Linked DNA regions of Homo sapiens: all the other regions are linked to region 2. Evidence: promoter capture Hi-C in human tissues and cell types (Jung and others, 2019). All regions are on one chromosome and are shown on one strand. Each heading gives the region's core, a stretch centred on a gene start or on the middle of the fragment in contact. The rest is flanking DNA. Distances are from core to core; before and after follow the strand shown. Region 1 has its middle 420 kb from the start of HTR1E. Region 2 holds the start of HTR1E (5-hydroxytryptamine receptor 1E). Region 3 has its middle 330 kb from the start of HTR1E.

What was found. Contacts are between HindIII fragments. The study calls those that stand out against the background at their distance.
Region 1: a contact is called between a fragment that was not itself captured here and the fragment with the promoter of HTR1E in region 2, in 4 of the 25 tissues and cell types used here (adrenal gland, bladder, ovary and 1 more).
Region 3: a fragment that was not itself captured here is called in contact with the fragment with the promoter of HTR1E in region 2 in 4 of the 25 tissues and cell types used here (adrenal gland, bladder, dorsolateral prefrontal cortex and 1 more).

The regions. Positions count from the first base shown.
Region 1 is chr6:86,516,595-86,520,127 of GRCh38, reverse strand. No RefSeq gene overlaps it. Among named protein-coding and RNA genes, the nearest start is that of HTR1E, 420 kb to the left of the region's middle. The HindIII fragment of the contact is 5,056 bases long and covers 1-3,533 here.
Region 2 is chr6:86,934,996-86,938,817 of GRCh38, reverse strand. HTR1E (5-hydroxytryptamine receptor 1E) reads right to left here and starts at 1,290. Exons shown (of 2, transcript NM_000865.3): 1 at 995-1,290. RefSeq lists enhancers at 396-950, 951-1,506. The HindIII fragment of the contact is 9,684 bases long and covers 1-3,325 here.
Region 3 is chr6:86,609,214-86,612,890 of GRCh38, reverse strand. No RefSeq gene overlaps it. Among named protein-coding and RNA genes, the nearest start is that of HTR1E, 330 kb to the left of the region's middle. The HindIII fragment of the contact is 4,331 bases long and covers 1-3,677 here.

The sequences.
Region 1 (3,533 bases), core at 329-2,828, 420 kb after region 2:
CCAGCTGCCATTTGAAATCTCCGAGTTCAGGGAAGGCCTAGGCCCTGTTTTTAAAAAATCCCAACTGATTAAGTTATGCCTACCCAAGATAATCTCTTTTTTGATTAATTTAAAACCAAATGACTCAGGACTATGATCACATCTACAGAGTCCTTTCACAGCAGAGCCTAGATTAGTGTTTGGTTGACTAATAGACAGTAGGGGTGTTTATGCCTCAAACTGTCAGTGCCTCACTTCAGTCCTCCAACTCTCCTGGGAGATGATCCCTTGTAGCCCACCCCAACAGGAAAGCGACTAGAAATGTAATTCTAGGGATTGTAATTCATCCTAGTCAAGCTGACCCACCAAAATGCTATCACAATAAACTATTCCTCATAGGTGACATATTTCACAATTAAAAAAATTAAAACTAAATTCAGTTATTTCCTTCCAGATAACAAAATAAAATGACTAGGTAAACTCCTGCAAAGAAGTCCTTGGAAATATCCATCAAAGCTGGCTTTTCTTGCTAGCACATTTCTTGCTGGGGTAATTCAAAATAACAGTGGTAGTATAATTTTGGAAAAGTGTTCTTAAGGAGGCTTGAATGGATACCTTAAATTACTTTAATCCTAAAAAGAAACATTAAATATGAAATGAGAAAATCTATTACATTTTAACATGTTTGAAAACAGGATTGTGCATTATGACATAATTATTTTCTTTTTTTTTTCTTCTTGGGACACAGTTTCACTTTGTTGCCCAGGCTTGAGTGCAGTGGCATGATCTTGGCTCACTGCAACCTCTGCCTCCCAGGTTCAAGCGATTCTTGTGTCTCTGCCTCCCAAATAGCTGAGATTACAGGTGTCTGCCACCACGCCTGTCTAAATGTGTTTTGTACTATTAGGAGAGACAAGGTTTCACCATGTTGGCTAGGCTAGTCTCAAACTCCTGACCTCAAGTGATCCACCTGCCTCGGCCTCCCAAAATGCTGGGATTATGGGCCTGAGCCACCGTGCCCAGCCTGACATAATTATTTTACTAAAGTGATTTGAGAAACATAAGCTGTCTTCTACCACAAACTATTGCTACCCTTCAATGCCACTTAAGCTTTTAGAAACCCTCCAAAAAATGTCATCATTGTTAGTGTATTATTATTTTAATTTGGGGGGTTAAGCTTGTTATAGCACCCAACAACAGCATATTCATTAGTTGAATAGAGACAATCCACAAATTAACAGTAACCAACTCATGAGTAAAGGAGTTGTTTTCAAAGAGGTGATAAATGATTATAAGTGAAGCCAAAATTTTCCATATCACTCCAAGAGTGGAAATTTATGGGAAGAGAAACATTAGCTCAGGAAAAGGATAAATTTATTGACAAAGTTACCTGGCAACATAATGCGCATCCTCCATGATTCTCCACCCTTTGAAGTGTTCAAGTCTAGGATGGCAGGCTTGCTGGGGGAATTGTGTCACGATTCAAACCTTGGGCTAGACACTCAATCCAATGGATATACCACATATTGTCACATTTTTTCATTCCTTATTCCTGGGCTAATCACCTACCACTACCATTTAATTTTTCAAATAACCAAATTGTTTTAAGGGAACGACACTTCTGGGAGAGTTCTGCCCAAGAACCTTCTTGACCCAGAATTTTCTGCATCACTCCTTTTCTTTCTGCTTAAACTGATTTTACCTATGCTGGACCCTCCCATTTTCTTCTTTTTTAGTTCTTAATTCATTAAATTCCACTTTCTCAGCCATATAAATCTTAATGCTTTCTTTAGCTTTTTGCCTTCCTCTTCCAACTTATTTTAAAGGAAGATCTTTCTCCCTCTCCTCATGTTGCCTGTGAGTAAAGCAAAAAATTTATTTGTGACTGTTACAACACCAAAATCAAGGACAAGGAAAGCCCTGAGTTTTGAAGTGAAATTGGACACAATAATGAATTCAAGCTAGTCTTTAAAAAATTAAAACAGTCACAAATGTGCAATCATAATACTGAAATTATGGTATTGGAAAAAAGTCTAATACAGATTTATTTCATTCAAAAAGCATTTGCTGAATCCTTACCATGTCTGGTTGCTAGGTGCTAGGGTTAGAAAATGGAACGTCAGTGTTTTTCAAAGGATGGTGTGTGCAGTTCTCAGAGTGAAAATCCCCTAGAGATTTTGAACTTGGATAGGCCAGGAACTGTGTCTTGCTCTGTTTGTATTACTGTTTATCACTAAAAAAAATTTTTGAAGAAAAATGATTCCCCCTTTTCAATTAATCAAAAATGCAGATGATTATTAAGTGCACACATTTGACTATATCATAAAGTTCTTTATGAACAAATCTGTGAATATTATTTTGCATTTTTCAATTCTATTTTATAGAAAAGATAAAATATTTGAAAAGATAACTGAAATGGAAATTAGGCAGCACCACTGTCCTGCTGCTTTGGGGAGTAGCATGAACCAGGCAGACATGGATTCAAATCCAAGCTCCTTACATTTATACACTATGCGGCCTTGCTTTTCCAAATCAGTTTGTTACCCAAAAGGGAGGAAAAATAATAATAATGAAGGTGTTATAAATAATAAGTATATAAGAGAATATACATTACTAACATTCAGGATTTATAGTTTTCCTATCTCTCCTGCTCTCTGAGGATAAAAAGACAAAAATACAAAATGAAGAATCATGGAAGGAAAGCAGTCAGGCTCTATGAAAAAAAAAAAAATCCCAGGATGTTGCACATGGAGGGAGAAATATAACCTGGAAGGGGATGCATTATGAGGAGGGGATGGTCCAGAGTGGTGTGTAAACAAATACCATGCTGGAAAGACACATGTGGATGAGAAAGAAGTCTCTCTTGGGATAATACATTAAGAGTATATTGGGAGCTTGGGGGTACACTTTATTATTTTAAGCCAGTATGTTGGTTTAAATTTGTTATGCAGCAATAAATAACTGATAACATAACCAAAACACCTCTTATTGAAAGTTAGAATCATTAGATTTATTGACCTACAATATTCTGTTCCATAGAGCACAGAGGATTTTAATAAGCAGAGATTTTAATAAGTAGAGCAGAGAGGATTTTAATAAGAATTTCTGTGTGCTCTTTAAATGTTTGAGAGAGCAGTGAGTGAGGAGTCGTCTTTGGACTGTGTCTCTTTAAAATCAGGACGATACAGGAAAGGAACAATGATTGTTAAGGAGATTGCTATTCTGAATAATTTCAAAGCTAAGGTGAGACTCTACCTGTACTTGACATAAAAATAATTGTCCTAAATACGAGTCAACATGCTTTTTCACTGTGAATGTCAAAACACTGAACGTTCATATAAAAGGGATAATGAGGACCTAACACAAGCAGCACTGAGACAAAAGCAAGATATTGGAAACATGTTTTATGACATTAAATTGAAGAAGTCTAAGAAAAAAAGTCCTTGCCAAATTACTACTTGGGAATTTCCATTTTAATGTTACCTTTAATAGACTCCCAATTGCTCATGAATTAGGAGTCCTGTCTGCATGGGACCAGAGAGTTACTGGTGAAA
Region 2 (3,822 bases), core at 41-2,540:
ATAAGAATGATAAAATGAGCCTAAATTATTTTGGAAAAAACACTGCTCCCCCAACCCATTTGACGATCTATTATTTCCTCCTGGGCTGCTCCCTCCCCAAGAGATTTGGTGCAGGAGGCAAGGAAGGACAATAAGAAAGGTTAGGAAGAAACACCTTGGGATGCTGACACCATCTGCCTTATCCTTCTAACTCAAGGACAAGCAGCGTTGGGTTGAATACAAGGTCCTTTCTTCCAAAACTGGGCACAGGCAGAAATATACATATAGATGCAAAACCACTATGATCCTGTGATAGGAGCTGGAATCACTTCCCTTTAGACTCAATTTCCTTTCCTTTTCGTTAGGTAGGGGGTCAGCCTCTCACCTTGCAGTATTGGGTGGAGATGGCTTAAGACCAAACTTCTCATCTTAACTCTTACTTCCAAGATTTATTTTGTATTTTAAAAAAAATGAGCCTGCCTCATTACCTCCACACCTGGGCATTTTGTTTATCAGGACTGAGCACAGTATTATTTTCTGAGGGCTGGAGCAACAGTGCAGTCCTTTCTAATCAAAGGTTTTTTAATCAGCTGGCTTTGAAATCACACAGTTCTTCCGGGGTCCCTGGAGCACACCACCTCCCTGTGATTTCTACTCAAGTTTTCCCTGGCCCCCCCCAGCACCCGTTCCATACCTATTTAATCTTTAAGCTGCCTCTAATCCTTTTGCAAGGAAGCAGGATGAAATGCTCAAACCACAGTTATACACAATGTTGATTCTCAGGTTCACACATTTGAGGAATTGTTTGAACAAGAAATGCTCTCTGTACTATAATCCAGGGTGCAGGCACGGTGCCCGGGCGACCCTCAGTCTCCCTCCGACACCCCGCATCCCAACTCCCGCCGCCTTTGCGCCTCAAAGCTGGCAAACATCCCCAAGCCAGAGCTGGAGTACCTGGAGTGGGTGGGGGTAAGAAGGGAAGCCAAGGTCGTCCCGGAAGGTGTGCGCCCCTCACCTTGTGGACGGTGCGTGCAGCCGCGCCGCACTGGGCAAACCGGCACGTCCAGCTGGCTCCAGAAGTCTCACTCGGAACCCGCTCCTTTTTCTCCTGAGCTGGATCAGAGCACTGCTTCTCTCAACATTCGATTCTGGAGTACGTTGAGCCCAGGGCGTTCTCCCCGCCAGCGTCCTTGCCCGCGCCAGTGCCCGCCGGGGTGCGGCGAGACAGAACCTGGGAGCGCGGCGCGCCGGGCAGCCCGAGGCACCGCTGGTGGCAGGCGCTGCGCTTCGCCGAGTCTGGGCGCCTGGACTGGAAGAGGAGGCGAGAGGGAGAGAGCGGGGAAGAGGAGGAGGAGGAGCAGGAGCAGGAGCATGGGCAGGGGCAGTCTGCTAAATCATCTACGCAGGTCGCAGCCTCCCGGGACACCGTGAACGGAGAGGGGGGTGGTGGGTGTGGGATGAAAAGATGAGCCCGGGTGTGAGGCAGGTGGTATTGTGAACTGGAGGTCGCAGCTCCGAGGTACTCCAGGTCTTGCTTAGGTTATAAAAGAGAAATTCTGGAGCTGATGGCGCCTTAGGGCTCCCGGTTGCAGACACTAGAGGGCAGGGCTGTCCATGTTATAAACCGGGCCAGCGGGGTTGGAGGTGTGGGCAAGGGACTCACCTCCTGAGCCCCTTGCCGGCCACAGCCCTGGCGGAGAAGGGGAAAATAGATACAACAAGGGGGCAGACCCTACTCCCTTCTTCTGTAGCGAGCCTGGGTTGAGGAGGGAGAGGAACGGCGGGAGCAGTTGACGGGTTTGCACGCTTTCTCTACGCGGTTCCAATGGCAAACAGACCCTCTGGAGGTGCATTTCTTAGCCCTCCTCCAGGGGAGATTACAGTCAACATCCACAGGATGCCTCAAGGAGAGAGATTACAAGGAAGGGGTGAGGGAGAAGTGGACGAAAATTGGGGTGGGTCAAAGTGGAAGGGGGGAAGAGAGGTGGGGAAAGCAGTGAAGAAAAGGAGACGGAGAGTGGAGTGGTTGGGGCTGAAAGACCTGCTGAAGCAGCCTTGCCATTTTTTTTTTTTTTGAGGGAAGTCTACCTGGGCGCCATCTCAGGTTGTCAGAGGGCTTTGTGCTCTTCTGAGGGTGCCAGGGGCTGTTCTTTTTGTTGTTCTGCTGCCGCAAGGTCAGAAAAGTTAAGCTGGGAGGGACTTTGCAGAATCCTGGCATTGCTAAAAGAAGCTTCCTTACGGCTGGTTGGTTATTCTCTGTGGAGAACTTGGGTGACTCAACATTGAAGCCTAACATGGATTGAGCCCCTGCCATTGTAAAAAAGAAAATCAGATTGTTCAAACTAGCCATAAAATGAACTAGACAATCTTATGGAGACAGTATGATCTGTAGACAGCCTGATACACAAACCTTAGAGTTGAAAGGACCTTGGAAACCATGTAGGCAACTTGGGTAGCTGCCCCAAACACCTGCCTCACACTTTTCTTTCTGGTTTGTAGCCTTATGGCTGATTTGAAAAACACTTTAAGTTATTTATTTATTTTTTGAAGTTTGACAATTCTAAACCAAATGAAACCCTTCTTCAGTTCAAAAAGCGAGCCTGTGTGCCCTTCTCCTGCCTTCTAGAGCGCCTCTCAAGGCCAGCAGGGGTTGACTGATGGATTATCAGGGGAATTTCACTGAACAAGAGAAAGGAAGGTTGGTAAACTATAGTCTTAAATTGTGATTTGCTTCTGTTAATCCCATTAAACTGAGAATAGGCTTAAGTAGACTGAAGTCTAACAGGAGGATGAGGTGGAAATATGTTTTCCTACTAAAGATGACACATCTTGAAGTTTGTTTGATGATAAAGGTGTTATGTAAAAATAAGCAGAACAAGAATCATTCCTCATTTTAAAAAAGAATCTTATAGGACTGAAGATATTTTAGATATCCCAAGAGAGTAAGTAAGGACATTGTTCTACTCTTGCAAGTTTGGAGTTCCTCCAAAATATAAAGGAAATATGAGTTTGTTAAATTGCTTTATTTAAAATTGATTTACCTATTTTTTGGTTATTACAACATAAGGAACTATGGAAACAAATATTATACACTTGGAAACTTTCCTGAACATACCTCAGAATACCCGCTTTTTGGCAGATGTTCAGCTTTATGAAGTGTCTGATTATTTTCAAGCTATTAATTAACTTCTGGCATATATTCTACCAGTTTTAATAAAATCAATGCTCTCTTAATCAAGAGCTGCTAATTCAATTTGTATTACCCATTTGAGTTTCCAGTGGCCTCTATGAGTGCTTTAAGATTGCAGGTATATGTAAATCACATCCCCATTTCATAATAGAGAATTCCTTGTCAGTTAGAAAAACTATAAGGATTGCCTGGAGCCCTGGGCATCTGGCATAAAAAAGTCATCAACTTGCAGCGGGAACTCAAAAGTCACTATGAAGAAATTAACTTATCAAATCCACTCATTCATTAATTCAAAAAATGTTGGTAAATATCTACCACGTTTGAGGCATGGGGCAACTTCTAGGACTAAAATAATGAAGGAACAGTTTATTCTCTCAGTGGGAAGACTAATTCCCAAACTAGTAAATCCATTCCAGAGTAACAGTTTGGAGAAGGGGTAAGTACAGGATGTTATGGGAGCACAGAGGAGGGCAATCTAATCCAGGTTTTAGGACCAGGGAGTAATTTCTGGAAGTGGTACTGACAGTGGTGATGTGTATAGATGGTGGGGTGGTTGATAGTGGTTGGGAGAGGGAAAAATCATGAACAATGGATTCCCTCTATCTCCAAGACAATCCTAATTACATTTGTTAATTTTTCACTTGGATGCTGGA
Region 3 (3,677 bases), core at 741-3,240, 330 kb after region 2:
GATTAACCACTGAATAACTACTTAAATGTATCTTTGGGGACTAGTACTTTGGAGTTTGCTTTGGAATAGAAACGTAGTCTCTTCAATACTACAGGTGTGTGTGTGTGTGTGTGTGTTTGTGTGTATTTGTGTGTGAATTGGGAGTGGGAGATGGGCTTGCCCAGAGGGAGGGCAAGGTTGGAGGAAGTAACAACAGCTGACCATCCACCTTTACGGTATAAGTGCAGATCCTCAGCAACTCATTTGCTGGTTTTCATCAGTGTTTCCACTGCTGCTTGGCCTCCTACCACGATTTTGCATTCAGATTTCTAGCAGTTTATATAACAAGGATATGTACTTTTAACTTCCAAAGCCCTTTGGCTTACTGTGCTGGGCAGGACACAAAACCTCACTATGTCTTATAGTAACTCGGCTTTTTAATGCCCCTTTGAAGAAAAGAACCATGTACTTGCCTGAAAATTAACCCAGTCACCCTCACTGTGTTGGAATAACCCAGGGAGCAAGAACTGAGCCAAAATTGTCCGGTAGGAGCACTCCGTATTAGGTGATGCTTAATCAAACTACTACTTAACTCTTGGCTGCTTAAAGGAGACTGAAGATGAGAATATGATAGCAATAGAACTGCAAACACACGCACACAATAAAGAGGGAGGTATCAGAACAAATAGTGCTAAAATGTAATTACTGTTCCATTAAAAAAAAACCCTATCTCTCTTAAGCTTTTCCAAGTTTGTTTCTGTCCCTTGTAACATAAAAAACAAAATTAGCACGTAAATGCTATCTCATTTTTAAAATATGCACGACTACATAGATTTTTAAAATTTACAGAGCAGTTTTTTTTTTTTTTTTTTTTTTTTTGAGACCGAATCCTCGCTCTGTCGCCGAGGCTGGAGTGCAGTGGCGCGATCTCGGCTCACTGTAAGCTCCGCCTCCCGGTTTCACACCATTCTCCTGCCTCAGCCTCCGGAGTAGCTGGGACTACAGGGACACGCCACTGCGCCCTGCTCATTTTTTGTATTTTTAGTAGAGATGGGGTTTCACCGTGTTAGCCAGGATGGTCTCGATCTCCTAACCTCGTGATCCGCCCGCCTCGGCCTCCCAAAGTGCTGGGATTACAGGCGTGAGCCACCGCGCCCGGCCAGCAGTTTCAAATACTACATCTAATTTTATTCTCAAAAACCCCACAGGGCTGTGTATTTTTATCATGATCTCCAATTTTTAGATCCATGTTATTCAAATGTGAGGTGTGTCTTGCAGATGATCTTGGGATGACTTTAGGTGGCGACCTTACATGACATTCAATGAGGAACTATGTGACAAAGGAGATATCTTATTTACAATTCTCTTTCAGGACTTTGTGTAAGGAGAAAATTTCAGTTTGGTGCTGATATTTCTATAAAACCTTTAGAACACATCTCCATTTTCATAAAAACATAACAGACTTTAAGCCTCAGAACTTTTGTCAGGCAATAATATCCAGACAGAGTTTATTACATTGTTTTTAAGTATTATTATAAACTTTATTGTCACCCTATTTTGGGGAACTACTATGTTATTAATTTTCCATTTATGGCAATATGTAAAGTTTCCTTTTTACATAGATTTATTTAAATAAAAAGTGAGCCAATTAAAGAAAAAATATTTTTAAATGGTATAAGTGGCACAAGGAAATGACAAAAATTGTGCAGGATACAAAATAACAAATGCTGTTTTAAGCAAAGAAAGTCAGTCTCAGAAAAGACAAGTGACTTAGGAAGCTCACATAGCAAAAATGGTAAGCCAAGCCTGAAGCGACTAGGATTCAGATGGGTTAAAGGCCTTTGTGATAGGTCATTGGTGATGGGCTTCAGACAAGACTGACTCCTAGCCCTGAGCTATTTAGGCTTTGAGGTGGCTTTTCTTATGGTTTATTTAAAAGTCTTAATGTCTTCCTACCCCATCCCCCAGCCCCATTACATGAGACTCTAGGCACCAAAATAGGCAATTAAATTTTCTTCGGATTTTAAAAACAATAATGAGAACAATAATATATTTAATTTTTACTATGGGCCCAGGTACTATTTTATATATTTCATATGTACTATATTTAGTAATTCATTTACTTATTAAACTTAAATACTTATCATTATACTTAATTTACTAATTCATTTAATCTTCACACTAAATTCCACAAGAGAGGTATCTCCTATGATTTTTCAAGTACAAATCCCTCAAACCTCACCTGATTGGTTGTACCTCTAGAATAATTTATATGACACCAGGTTAAAAGACTGAAGACTCACTTTATGTCCCATTCCTAATACAGATTTCAAAGCTTATATCTTTTTGGTTCCATTTTGTTTTGTTCTGTTTTGTTTTTTTTATGTTAAGTTCTGGGATACATGTGCAGAATGTGCAGGTTTGTTACACAGGTATACATGTGCCATGGTGGTTTGCTGCACCCATCAACCCATCATCTACATTCGGTATTTCTCCTAATACTATCCCTCCCCTAGCCCCCCACTCCACCCCCCACAGGCCCCAGTGTGTGATGTTCCCCTCCCTGTGTCCATGTGTTCTCATTGTTCAACTCCCACTTATGAGTGAGAACATGCAGTGCTTGGTTTTCTGTTCCTGTTTGCTGCGACTGATGGCTTCCAGATTCTTCCATGTCCCTTTATTAGATTATTTTTAAGTGGTCTGAGAGAAGAGAGACAGACCCTCTCATATTGTTTTATATTGTTCTACACTCAGAAAAAGAAAGAGAAGCAAAACTAAAGGCAGGTAGCCTGGTGCCTACGAACAGACCCAAAACAAAGGAACCAGACCTGAAACCAGGCCTGGGCCTGCCTGACCTAAGTCTGTTAAAATTTGACCCCTGACCTAGCAACTGATGTTATCTATAGATTCCAGACGTTGTATGGAAAGACATTGTGAAACTTCCCGGTCTGTCCTGTTTCACTCTGACCACCGGTGCATGCAGCCCCTGTCACGTACCCCCTGGCTTGCTCAATCAATTACGACCCTTTCATGTGAAACCCTTAGTGTTGTGAGCCCTTAAAAGGCACAGAAATTGTGCACCCGACAAGCTTGGATTTTAAGAGGCTAGTCTGCTGATGCTTCCAGCTGATTAAAGCCATTCCCTTCACTATCTCCATGTCTGAGGGGTTTTGTATGCGGCTTGTCCTGCTACAGTCCATAACATTTAACACTAATTGAAAAAGTATTTATTAGCACAACAAATATGCAGCAGACATTGTGATGGCCACTCAGGACAACATTGGTGAGCAAAAGAGTGAGGACTGCCTTCCAGAACTCATAGTTTGATGGGAGAAATAGACCTCTTTAAACAATCACACACTACATATGACCATACAATTAATGGTATAACAGAAACATACATAATTAGCATAAAAGAAACATACGTGGCCTGTAAGAATGTGACTCAATTTAAATTGGGCCAAGAGGATCAGAAAAGCCTTTGAGAAATTGACATATTGGCTGAGATATGGTGGATGAGTAAGAACTGAGTAGGTGCAGGTGGGAGTTCAGGTAGAAGGAGGAGTATTAAGGCAGAGGAAAGAGCACTTAAAAAGACCTTGGGCAAGAAAGAACATGGTGACTGACAGATTGAAAGACGGCCAAGATGGCTAGTGCTTGAAAGATGGCCAGGATGACCAGCAGGTTGGGGGCAAACT